3 separate regions of the Homo sapiens genome follow, and all the other regions are linked to region 1. Evidence: promoter capture Hi-C in 16 types of primary human blood cells and fetal thymus (Javierre and others, 2016). All regions are on one chromosome and are shown on one strand. The core of a region is centred on a gene start or on the middle of the fragment in contact, and the rest is flanking DNA. Distances in the headings are between cores, read along the strand shown. Region 1 holds the start of SLC25A3 (solute carrier family 25 member 3). Region 2 overlaps ACAD10 (acyl-CoA dehydrogenase family member 10). Region 3 overlaps ANKRD13A (ankyrin repeat domain 13A).

What was found. The method cuts DNA at HindIII sites, captures the fragments that hold promoters and counts their contacts. A CHiCAGO score of 5 or more calls a contact.
Region 2: a contact is called between a fragment that was not itself captured here and the fragment with the promoter of SLC25A3 in region 1, in 1 of 17 cell types (neutrophils). The highest score is 8.5, in neutrophils.
Region 3: a fragment that was not itself captured here is called in contact with the fragment with the promoter of SLC25A3 in region 1 in 1 of 17 cell types (neutrophils); the score reaches 9.2 in neutrophils.

The regions. Positions count from the first base shown.
Region 1 is chr12:98,591,589-98,595,137 of GRCh38, forward strand. SLC25A3 (solute carrier family 25 member 3) reads left to right here and starts at 2,098. Exons shown (of 8, transcript NM_002635.4): 1 at 2,098-2,152; 2 at 2,387-2,547. The coding sequence starts at 2,391. RefSeq lists enhancers at 1,620-1,839, 1,888-2,512, 2,090-2,189, 2,513-3,137. The HindIII fragment of the contact is 3,126 bases long and covers 1,398-3,549 here.
Region 2 is chr12:111,698,478-111,702,026 of GRCh38, forward strand. All of the region lies in intron 2 of ACAD10 (acyl-CoA dehydrogenase family member 10), which reads left to right. Among named protein-coding and RNA genes, the nearest start is that of ACAD10, 14 kb to the left of the region's middle. The HindIII fragment of the contact is 6,707 bases long and covers 1-3,549 here.
Region 3 is chr12:110,032,535-110,036,083 of GRCh38, forward strand. ANKRD13A (ankyrin repeat domain 13A) reads left to right here. Exons shown (of 15, transcript NM_033121.2): 13 at 1,263-1,423. Among named protein-coding and RNA genes, the nearest start is that of C12orf76, 14 kb to the right of the region's middle. The HindIII fragment of the contact is 848 bases long and covers 1,585-2,432 here.

The DNA.
Region 1 (3,549 bases), core at 848-3,347:
GGGAATAGGAAGATTCACTACAGTCATATATTTTTACATAATATTTGACTTTTTCATGACAAAGGATTTTTAAATTAGAAAAGCACCATAAAGTTGAATTAACCAAAAAAGAGAGAGAGAAAGTCCAGACCCTTCAGTGACTACCTCTGTCTACATAAGATCAGACTCCTCAGTCTGGTATGTGAGGCCCTGGACAATCAGGTGCTAGTGTACTTTTTTAACTTTATCTGTCACTACTTCCCTTCCTGTGCCCTCCACTCTGGAATTCTTCCTGGGACTGTAGGACTTTAGTTGGGCCAGAAGGGCTGGGTCTGGGATAGGGTTGCTTAGAGAGTGCCGTGATGCCGCAGCCTCAATGCTAACTTTTGTTTTTTTGTTTTTTTTTTTTTTTGAGACGGAGTCTTGCTCTGTCGCCCAGGCTGGAGTGCAGTGGCATGATCTCGGCTCACTGCAAGCTCTGCCTCCTGGGTTCACGCCATTCTCCTGCCTCAGTCTCCTCAGTAGCTGGGACTACAGGCGCCCGCCACCTCGCCCGGCTAATTTTTTGTATTTTTAGTAGAGACGGGGTTTCACCGTGTTAGCCAGGATGGTCTCGATCTCCTGACCCCGTGATCTGCCCGCCTCGGCCTCCCAAAGTGCTGGGATTACAGGCGTGAGCCACCTCGCCCGGCCAATGCTAACTTTTTTTAGGTAACATCTTCTGTAGACTTTTAGACATTATCTCATTGAGTTCTCATAGACTCTGCAAGGTAAGTATTACTCCCATCCAGAACCAGACACCTGATTTGCAGGGTCCAGTGCAAACTAAAAAAAGCGTGGCCCCTTGTTCATACATGTATTAAGAATTTCAAGCCGGGCATGGTGGCTCAGGCCTGTAATCCCAGCACATTGGGAGGCCGAGGTGGGCGGATCACCTGAGCTCAGGAGTTCGAGACCAGACTGGCCAACGTGACGAAACTCTGTCTCTACTAAAAATAGAAAACTTAGCCGGGCGTGGTTGTGCACGCCTGTAGTCCCAGCTACTCCGGGGGCTGAGACAGGAGAATCGCTTGAACCCGGGAGGCGGAGGTTGCGGTGAGCTGAGATCGCCCCACTGCACTCCAGCCTGGGCGACAGAGCAAGACTCCATCTCAAAAGAAAAAAAAAAAAAATCAAAATGACAGCAGAGCATTAAATGAAGTGTAAGGCCATGTGTGACTGTACCAGTGTGAACCTATGAGGCCAGTCCCACCCCTATCTTACATCTAGGGAACAGGTACACAGAGATGAAGTAAATTCCCAAGGTTACTTTGTCAAGAGCTTGGAAAATATAAGAGTCAGAAGTCTAACAGGTTGAATCCCTATTAAACTCTCCCCAACTAAACTACGCCCCTCCCTGTTGAGCTGAATCTAATGAAAGCTTCCTAAATGTATTAACCACACACACGCACAATCTGCTATCAGTCACTTTCAGTAGTTCATCGCTGTAACATCTCAGGAGTTCAATGTTTCAACGTGTTCTGTAGATTACTGTGATAACGCGGCAAGCTGTCGTAAGACTTCTTGCTGCACATTTCTTTTTAAAATATTCTCCAGGAGTCTGATGAAAAATACAGACATACCTATGTTTAATGTCAATGGATGGAACTTATTTTAAAAAGTACTGTAATGGCAGAAGTTGTGACACAAAGTACTGCAGTGATGTTGTAACTCCAACACCTAAATATATTATCAAGCATTCGCGTTTTGTTTTGTTTTTTAAGTGACTACTAGATACTGTGATTCACTTAAGTGAAGCGAACTGAAGCCCGTGGTCAAGGAGAGACACCTGAAGGTGAAGGGACAAAGCGAGCAGGGTAAGAGCTCGAGCCCGACCCCTCTCAAAAAATATAGACCCGGAACGCGCGCCTGCGCAGAACGAATCCTCCCGCGCACAAGCCGGGCGGAAGAGCTGGGGCGGGCAGGGGCGGGAATAAGGTTGCTAGGAGAACGCGATGACGCTACGGGCTCGGCGCTCTTCTCCACCAATGGGCGACGCGTACTTGCAGTGGCGCGCTGTGTGCGTCACGCCGACGACGCGCGAAGGGCACACATCTTAGGACCCGGAGGACGTCCGGCCTCTGTGAGCCGCAACCTTTCCAAGGGAGTGGTTGTGTGATCGCCATCTTAGGGAGTGAGTGTGGCCGGGCCTTCTCCTGTGGCGGGTGTGGGGAGCGGAGCCCAGAGCTCCTGTGGGGCCGCTGCTTTGGCGGTGGGCCCAGCCGGGAGCAGCCTCTTTCGAAGGCCGCCGTGACCTCTTCAAGGGCGTGGAGACGGGAAGGAAAAGGCCCCGGTTGGGGTTCCAGGGCGCCGGTAACGTTAACCGGCGCCTTGCCTGTCCTCTAACCGTCGCTCCCTCCTCCCCTAGAAAGATGTTCTCGTCCGTGGCGCACCTGGCGCGGGCGAACCCCTTCAACACGCCACATCTGCAGCTGGTGCACGATGGTCTCGGGGACCTCCGCAGCAGCTCCCCAGGGCCCACGGGCCAGCCCCGCCGCCCTCGCAACCTGGCAGCCGCCGCCGTGGAAGGTGAGATCAGACCCTGCCCAATACAGTCGTGTGGTCTACTTGTGGGCCGCCCAGCCTTTGAGGCCTGGACCCGGCTTGGAGGACAGGGAAGGACGAGTCCAGCCCGCTGCACCGTAGGACGGCGCCCAGTTGCTTGCCCTGGGGTATCGGCCTTTTCCACCATAGGCGGGTGTCAGATCCTTGGCCTTCCCTCAAGGGCGTGGAAGCGCTGAGGCCCTGTGTCCCTTCGTGACCTCCGTGTGCCCGAGGGAAGAGAGGCCGTGACTAGCTCTTTCTCCGCCGTGAGCTCGCTTGGTCAGCAAACTAAGTACTGGGTAAACTCTCCTCCCGAAACTACTGACCACCCACAGTTCTACTAACTATATTACCTGTCCTTTGATTTGCCCTTAGTTTTCTTAAAAATAGTCCTTTCCTAAGTTTTATATTTGTCGACGCCAGGTCAGTCATTTTTGCACTTAATTGTATATGAGATAACTAGATGTCCTGTTTTCGTGCGACTGGAGGAGGCAGCTTGCAGCCCTACATAGGCAATAGAAAGGAGATAATTGGTGGGCGTCCCTTTGGTGTGATTATCTCTTGGGATTCTTGGTGGTTGGGCCCAGCTTTAACTTAGTTGTGTGTGTTTTAAATCCTAGTGAAGTATGTACATACAGAGAAACCTGAAAACCGAATTGTAGGAGTCCTAAGAATGTTATCTACCTTGTGCCTGTAAAATCGAAAGATTTTTTTCTTTAAATCATTCATGTGCTTCTGTTGTCTTTAGTATGGATAGAGTCCTTATTTACACTATCTGTCGTTCAGTTTAAAAGTTAAAGCTAACATTATTTGTGTATTAAATGTATTTGACTGCAGGAATTTGTGCGTATCCGTTTTTATGTTACAGGAGTTCTTAAGTGGGGATAGTATTGGTTAGTGGCTGGGATAAACTTTGAAGTTGTTTGCAAGCCTTTTACATGTCGAGTGATCTTTCTGAGTTTCGTTTGTACTCTGAAGTGTGCTCTT
Region 2 (3,549 bases), core at 266-2,765, about 13 Mb after region 1:
TAAACCTTTTTTTTTTTGAGACAGACTTTTGCTCTTGTTGCCCAAGCTGGAATGTAATGGTGCAATCTTGGCTCACCACAACTTCTGCCTCCCAGGTTCAAGCGATTCTCCTGCCTCAGCCTCCTGAGTAGCTGGGATTACAGGCATGCACCACCACCCCTGGCTAATTTTGTATTTTTAGTAGAGACGGAGTTTCTCCACGTTGGTCAGGCTGCTCTCGAACTCCCTACCTTAGGTGATTGCCCGCCTTGGCCTCCCAAAATGCTGGGATTACAGGCATGAGCCACTGCGCCCGGCCGGTCATAACCGTTTATCTGTTACATGATTTGCAAATATTTTCTCCCTTTTATGCCTTGTCTTTTGATTTTATTGATAATGCTTTTAGCTGTACCAAAGTTTTCTTTTTCTTCCTTTCTTTTTGAAACGGAATTTTACTCTGCCACTCAGGCTAAAGTGCAGTGGAGTGACCTCGGCTCACTGCAACCTCTGCCTCCCAGGCTCAAGCTATCCTCCCACCTCAGCCTCACAGGTAGCTGCACTATAGGCTCGCACCACCACACCTGGCTAATTTTTGTATTTTTTGTAGAGATGGGTTTTCACCATGTTGCCCAGGCTGGCCTTGAACTTGGGAGCATAAACAATCTGCCCACCTCTGCCTCTGCCTCCCAAAGTGCTGGGATTTTAGCCATGAGTCACCACGCCCAGCCTTCTATATTATTTTCTAAGTTTTAGAATTTTGTTTTTCTGACTTGGATATTTACTGTATTGGGAATTTGTTTTGTGATGGCCTGAAAGATGATTTAACTTAATTTCTATTCCATATTGAAACCTAGTTATGCCAACCCCATTTATTGAATAGTCACTGCTAAAAGAGCATAAAATACAGATAAAATTTCCTGCTGCCACCTCGACCCTTTCCCAGTTGGTTCCAGACTTAAGTGGTTATCATTGTGAAAAGTTTCTTGTTTATTTTTGAAAAATTGCCCGTGTGTGTTGGGGGTGGGTGTGGGGGGCATATACAAATTGGATCATATGCTGTAGACTGTTCCATAGCTTTTTTTTGACTCAGTATGATATTTTGCCATCTTTTTCATATCAGTTGGCATATGTCTAGGATCTAGTTTGGAGGTTAGTAAACTTTTTCTATAAAGGGCTAGACATGGTGGATGTGATGGCTTATGGCTACGATCCCAGCACTTTGGGAGGCCGAGGTGGGAGACTGTTTGAGGCCAGGAGTTTGAGACTAGCCTGGGCAACATAGTGAGATCCCCATTTCTACAAAAAATAAAAAAATTAGCTGGGCATGGTAGCACGCACCTGTAATCCCAGCTACTCAGGAGGCTAAGGCAGAAGGATCACTTGATCCTGGGAGCTTGAGGCTGCAGTGGGCCATGACTGTGCCACAGCTCCCCAGCCTGGGCAACAGCAAGACCCCATCTTAAAAAACAAAAATAAAGAAGGGCTAGATAGGCTTTGTGAGCCATACTCTCAGTCACAACTATTCACTTCTACCATTGCAGCAAGAAAGCAATAATAGACAATAGTAAACAAGTGTGGTTGTGTTCCAATAAGACTTTATTTACGAAAATAGGTAGAGCCAGGCATGCTGGTGTGTGCCTGTAGTTCCAGCTACTAGGGAGGCTGAGGTGAAGGTTCATTTGAGCCCAGGAGTTTGAGGCCAGCCTGGGCAACACAGCAAGACCCCATCTCTTAAAAAAATAGATAGGAGACAGATTTGGCCCCAAGCCATATTTTGCTGACCTTTGGGCAAGTTTATATGTTTTAACATCTGTGTGGTATTCCGTTATATGAATATATCATAATTGATGTAATAAACACCTTATTAGTATACATTTAACTTTTCTAGTTCTTTTTATTATGAGCAATTCTGCACAAACAACCTTGTACATAACCTTTGCTTACTTTCATAAATATATATGGAAGAAATTTCTGAAAGTAGAATTACTACGTCAAATGTATGTGCATTTCAGATTTTGACAGAAATTATCAAATTGCTGTCTGCAGAGGTTGTGCTTGTTTACGCTCCCGTCAACAGCATATGATGGTGCCGGTTTCCTCACATGCTTGCCAACTCCGAGACTGTGAAAAATGCTATATGCTTTAGCTCTAAAATTAAAGTATTTTTTGGATTGAGTTTTAAAAGTCTTGTTATTTTCAAAGGACATATACCAGATTGTTAACATTAGTTATTTCTGAAAGAAGATAGGACTGCTTGTCCTTTTACTTTCCTTCCTTCCTTCCTTCCTCTTCTTTTTTTTTTTTTTTTTTTTTTTTTAAGACATGGGGTCTTGCTCTATGTCCCTAGGCTGCAGTGCGGTGGCACCATCATAGCTCATTGCAGCCTCAAACTCCTGGGCTTAAGCGATCCTTCCACCTCAGTTTCCCGAGTAGCTAGAATTACAGGTGCAACCCATCACGCCAAGCTAATTTTTAAATTTTTTCTAGAGACAGGGTTTAATCATGTGGCCCAGGCTGGTATCAGACTCCTAGCCTCAAGCGATCCTCCCATTTTGGCCTCCCAAAGTGCCGGGATTATAGGTGTGAGCTACTGCACCCAGCCTACTTTCTTTTGCATAGTTTTCTATGAAATATATTGTCTGAAAAATTTTCAATGCACAGACACTACTTTATCAGAAAAAAACAACAAAGGTGTTTTAATTCCAAAACAAAAGCTATATGTAAAGTGTATTTTGTCTTAGATATATAATTATGAATGTTGTATGTATATATTTGCCCCCAGCATCTGTATTATAGACAGAAAAAGCAACTGTGGATGAGGAGAAACAGTCCTTGCACAAATGTTCCCAGTATTCTACAGATGCTGATGCTGATCCATCCACTGCCTTAGCTCTTTGTGGACAGAAATTTCCTTCTTGGCCAGGCACAGTGGCTCACACCTGTAATCACACACAGTACCTTGGGAGGCCCGAGGCAGGCAGGCAGATCACCTGAGGTCAGGAGTTTGAGATCAGCGTGGCCAACATGGCAAAACCCTGTCTCTACTGAAAATACAGAAATTAGCCAGGCTTGGTGGTGCACGCCTATAATCTCAGCTACCTGGGGGGCTGAGGCACGAGAATCAGTTGTACCTGTGAGGTGGAGGTTGCAATGAGCTGAGATTGTACCACTGCACTCTAGCCTGGGTGACTGAGTGAGGCTTTTTCTGAAAAAAAGAAGAAATTTGCTTCCTTATCCACAAAGACAGCATTTCAGGCGAACATTTCAGTGTACTCACTCCATGCTGTGAAGAATTACTATAGCCTATAGAAGGAAGGGCATGTTCTAGGGGCCACCAGGATCTGGCTTCTTCCTTCATGTGCTTCCATAGTCTCTGCCAGGTCCAGGTAAGTGACCTAACATATGGTCCAGTGAATATGAGATCAAGGAATAAAATTCATCATGCAGTGCCCGGAGTCCTCTCAAGCAACCACTGAGGATCTGATGCTTCACAGCAGTGTGCTCTCTGTTGTACACATTAGCATTGCTCTTCCTCTGGGGGTCTAAGGTTGAGATTTTGCATTTTGTGAA
Region 3 (3,549 bases), core at 759-3,258, about 11 Mb after region 1:
CCTTGAATAAAACATTCGGCATTACTGTATAAACTGAAGATGTGGATGACCTAGCAATTCCTAGATGTGTACCCTAAAGAAAGTTATGCACATGAGCATCTGGAGACCCCAGTACTGGGCAGCAGCATCCATTCATAACAGCAGAAACCTGGAAACGACCCAAATGTCCCGAGATGGTAGAATGCGCTATTGTGCTCTATTAATACAACAGAATAACATATAGTATTGAAAATAAAAATTTATAGCTATGTGCGTCAAAACTGTTGAATTTCAAAAGCATAATGTTGAATGAAGAAAATCCAATTTGAAGAATAAATTCCGCATGATTCCATTTATGTCGAGTTCACAAACAGGCTAATACAAACTATTAGGATGATATACATGTGGCAAGCTCCAGAGAAGAGCTAGGCAGTGTAAACAACTATTCTGAATTATGTATTTACCTCTGGAGAGGAAGAAGGGAATATTGTTAACAAGGGATGTGCCCGCAGTATGGTATTGATAGTGTTTTTTTCTTTTTCTTTTTTTTTTTTTTTTTTGAGACAGTCTTACTCTGTCACCCAGGCTGGAGTGCAGTGGTGCGATCTTGGCTCACTGCAAGCTCCGCCTCCCGGGTTCATGCCATTCTCCTGCCTCAGCCTCCCGAGTAGCTGGGACTACAGGTGCCCGCCACCACGCCCGGCTAATTTTTTTTTTTTTTTGTATTTTTAGTAGAGACGGGGTTTCACCATGTTAGCCAAGATGGTCTCGATCTCCTGACCTTGTGATCTGCCTGCCTCAGCCTCCCAAAGTGCTGGGACTACAGGCGTGAGCCACCGCGCCCGGCAGTTATTGATAGTGTTCTGTGTCTTAGGCTAGGTGAAGGGCACACAGGCATTTGTTTAATTATTATCATTTTTAAGTGTTCAGATATTTTATATATACTTTTATATATTTACCATATATCTTCCTGCAAAAGGAAGAAACACATTGGTGTGACTGTGCGTATATGTTTAGGGGGAGAAATCTGCGCTTTTCATTTTATAGTCTTGTGTATTTTTTTATGACTGTGTTCGTTGTTTCCACTAAAATCAAGGAAAAAGAAAAAAGCTGTATTCTGTCACTTTTTTCTGTCATGCTTCCTCAGAATCTCTCATATAATAGTAAGCCTTGATTGTTATAATTTTGAGCCTTTCTTTTTTTTCTAATGTACAACATTTTTGCAAAAAGTTGGAGTGGAAATGTAATGAACTCAGACACTGGACGGTTGCCTTTTGTTTCAGCTTCCCACATCACAAACTTTGAGGTTGATCAATCTGTGTTTGAAATTCCCGAATCTTACTATGTTCAAGACAATGGCAGAAATGTGCATTTGCAAGATGAAGATTACGAGATAATGCAGTTTGCCATCCAGCAAAGTCTGCTGGAGTCCAGCAGGAGCCAGGTGTGTTTATCAGAATACTCTAATGGCAGGGCGTGGGAGGTCTTACCCTCTGGGTTAGCCTCAGTGTTTGGCTAATCTGAAAGATTTATTCTAAATATCAAGTTTGACACATTCATGGTATTTGCATAGGTTATACTTTGTGCATCTGGTCTTCTTACAAAAGCTTGTTATGTAAGAGACCATCTACATAATCCCAGTCAGCACCATTCACAAGATGTCTTCAGGCAGACTTTCCTTTTCCTCATATTCACGCACATAGCTTGTAATTCTGTACTTTTTGAGATGTGCTTCATCATTTTCTAGCACTGAAGCAGTATCATATTTTTCCTGAAGGATTACCTGTGTGTCAGTAGTCTCGGATGAAGGTAGTGAAGTGGATTTGAATCCCACTTCCTCCACAAAGGGTACCATCTCCCTAAACTCTCTCTGGGTCTCTAGTGAAACAGAAAATGAAGGACAGGACAGACCTGTGTAAGCAGTAGGCTTTGTGTGTGTGTGTGTGACTCTATGTTGCCCAAGTCGGAGTGCAGTGGCTGTTCCCCGGCATGATCATATTGCACCCTCAAACTCCTGGGTTCAAGAGATCCTCCCACCTCAGCCTCCCAAGTAGCTGGGACTAAAGTCATGCACCACTGTGCCCAGTAGAACAGTTGCCTTTTATTGTCATATCTGGTTCTCCCTCCATGCCTCACCTACCTGGGACAGTCCAAGGCTTGAGGTCCTCCTCCCCTAACATCAACTCCTTCCATCTCCTTCCTTCTGTGCCTCCTGGCTCTACTAGGGTAGGGTCTGGTCTGCCTCCAGCACCCTCTGGTGTGTCCTGGGTTCCTGCAGTCCATTTATTTGTTAATTGGCTTTTTCTTCCATTCTTCATTCAGATATTTGCAGAGTACCTTCTTTGTGCCAGGCTCTGTGCCAGGTGCTGGGAATTCTCTGGGAAGCAGCCCCTGCCCTCACAGGGCTGCTGCTTTGAGAACAGTGCTCACACTCCAGCGTCCTCACTGGTTCAAGCTTATAGCTTTCTGGTTCTATTCCTGAGTCTTAGTGCTTGTGTAATGTGAGTCTACCTCCTCCACTTCCCCCTGCCACCACCATGGCCCCATTCCCAGACCCATTCAGTTTTCCGAGCCAGACCCCAAAGCAAGCATGTTCCCTTTGGGAGGCATCCTGGGAGAAGACCCCTGCACATCACCATCAGCCTGGTATGCTTTTCCTTTCCCTATGTAAGTGAGCTTAGCTCCCCCCGCCAGCTCCCAAGTAGCTTCATAAACCTTGTTGACCATAAGTTTTAACAAGGGAAGTAGCCAAAGTCAAAGACTACCAGTATTGAATTGTGTCTTCTAATCTTGCCCTAGAAGAATTACTGGCTGGGTGCAGTGGCTCATGCCTATAATCCCAGCACTTTGGGAAGCCAAGATGGGAGGACTGATTGAGCCCAGGAGTCTGAGACCAGCCTGGGCAACATAGTGAGATCCTATATCTACCAAATTTTTTTTTTTTTTTAATTTTTGAGGCAGAGTCTCACTCTTTTGCTCAGGCTGCAGTGCAGGGGCACAATATTGGCTCACTGCAGCCTCTGCCTCCCAGGTTCAAGTGATTCTCATGCCTCACCCTCCCGAGTAGCTGGGATTACAGGTGCGCACCACCAGACCCAGCTAGTTTTTGTGTTTTTAGTAGAGACGGGGTTTTACCATGTTGTCCAGGCTGATCCCAAACTCCAGACCTCAAGTGATCCACCAGCCTTGCCCTCCCAAAGTGCTGGGATTAGAGGTGTGAGCCACCATGCCTAGCCTCTACCAAAAAATTTTAAAAGCCAAGTATGGTGGTGTGCACCTGTATTCCCAACTAGTCAGGAGGCTTAGGTGGGAGGATTTCTTGTGCCCTGGGGTCAAGGCTGCAGTGAGCTACGATCACATCACTACCCTTGAGCCTGGACAACAGAGTGCGACCCTGTCTCTAAAAAAACAAAAACCTGCTTTGGTCACTTGAACTTTGCCCAAGGTCAGCTGTGTTTTTGCTTTTCGTTGTGTATATCTTCCACGTGGGTTAGCTGTATTTAAGAGACTGATTTTGTACAAAGGATGAGAAGGTTGTGGCTGTGAGTTAGGCTGTGGCATGTTACTACC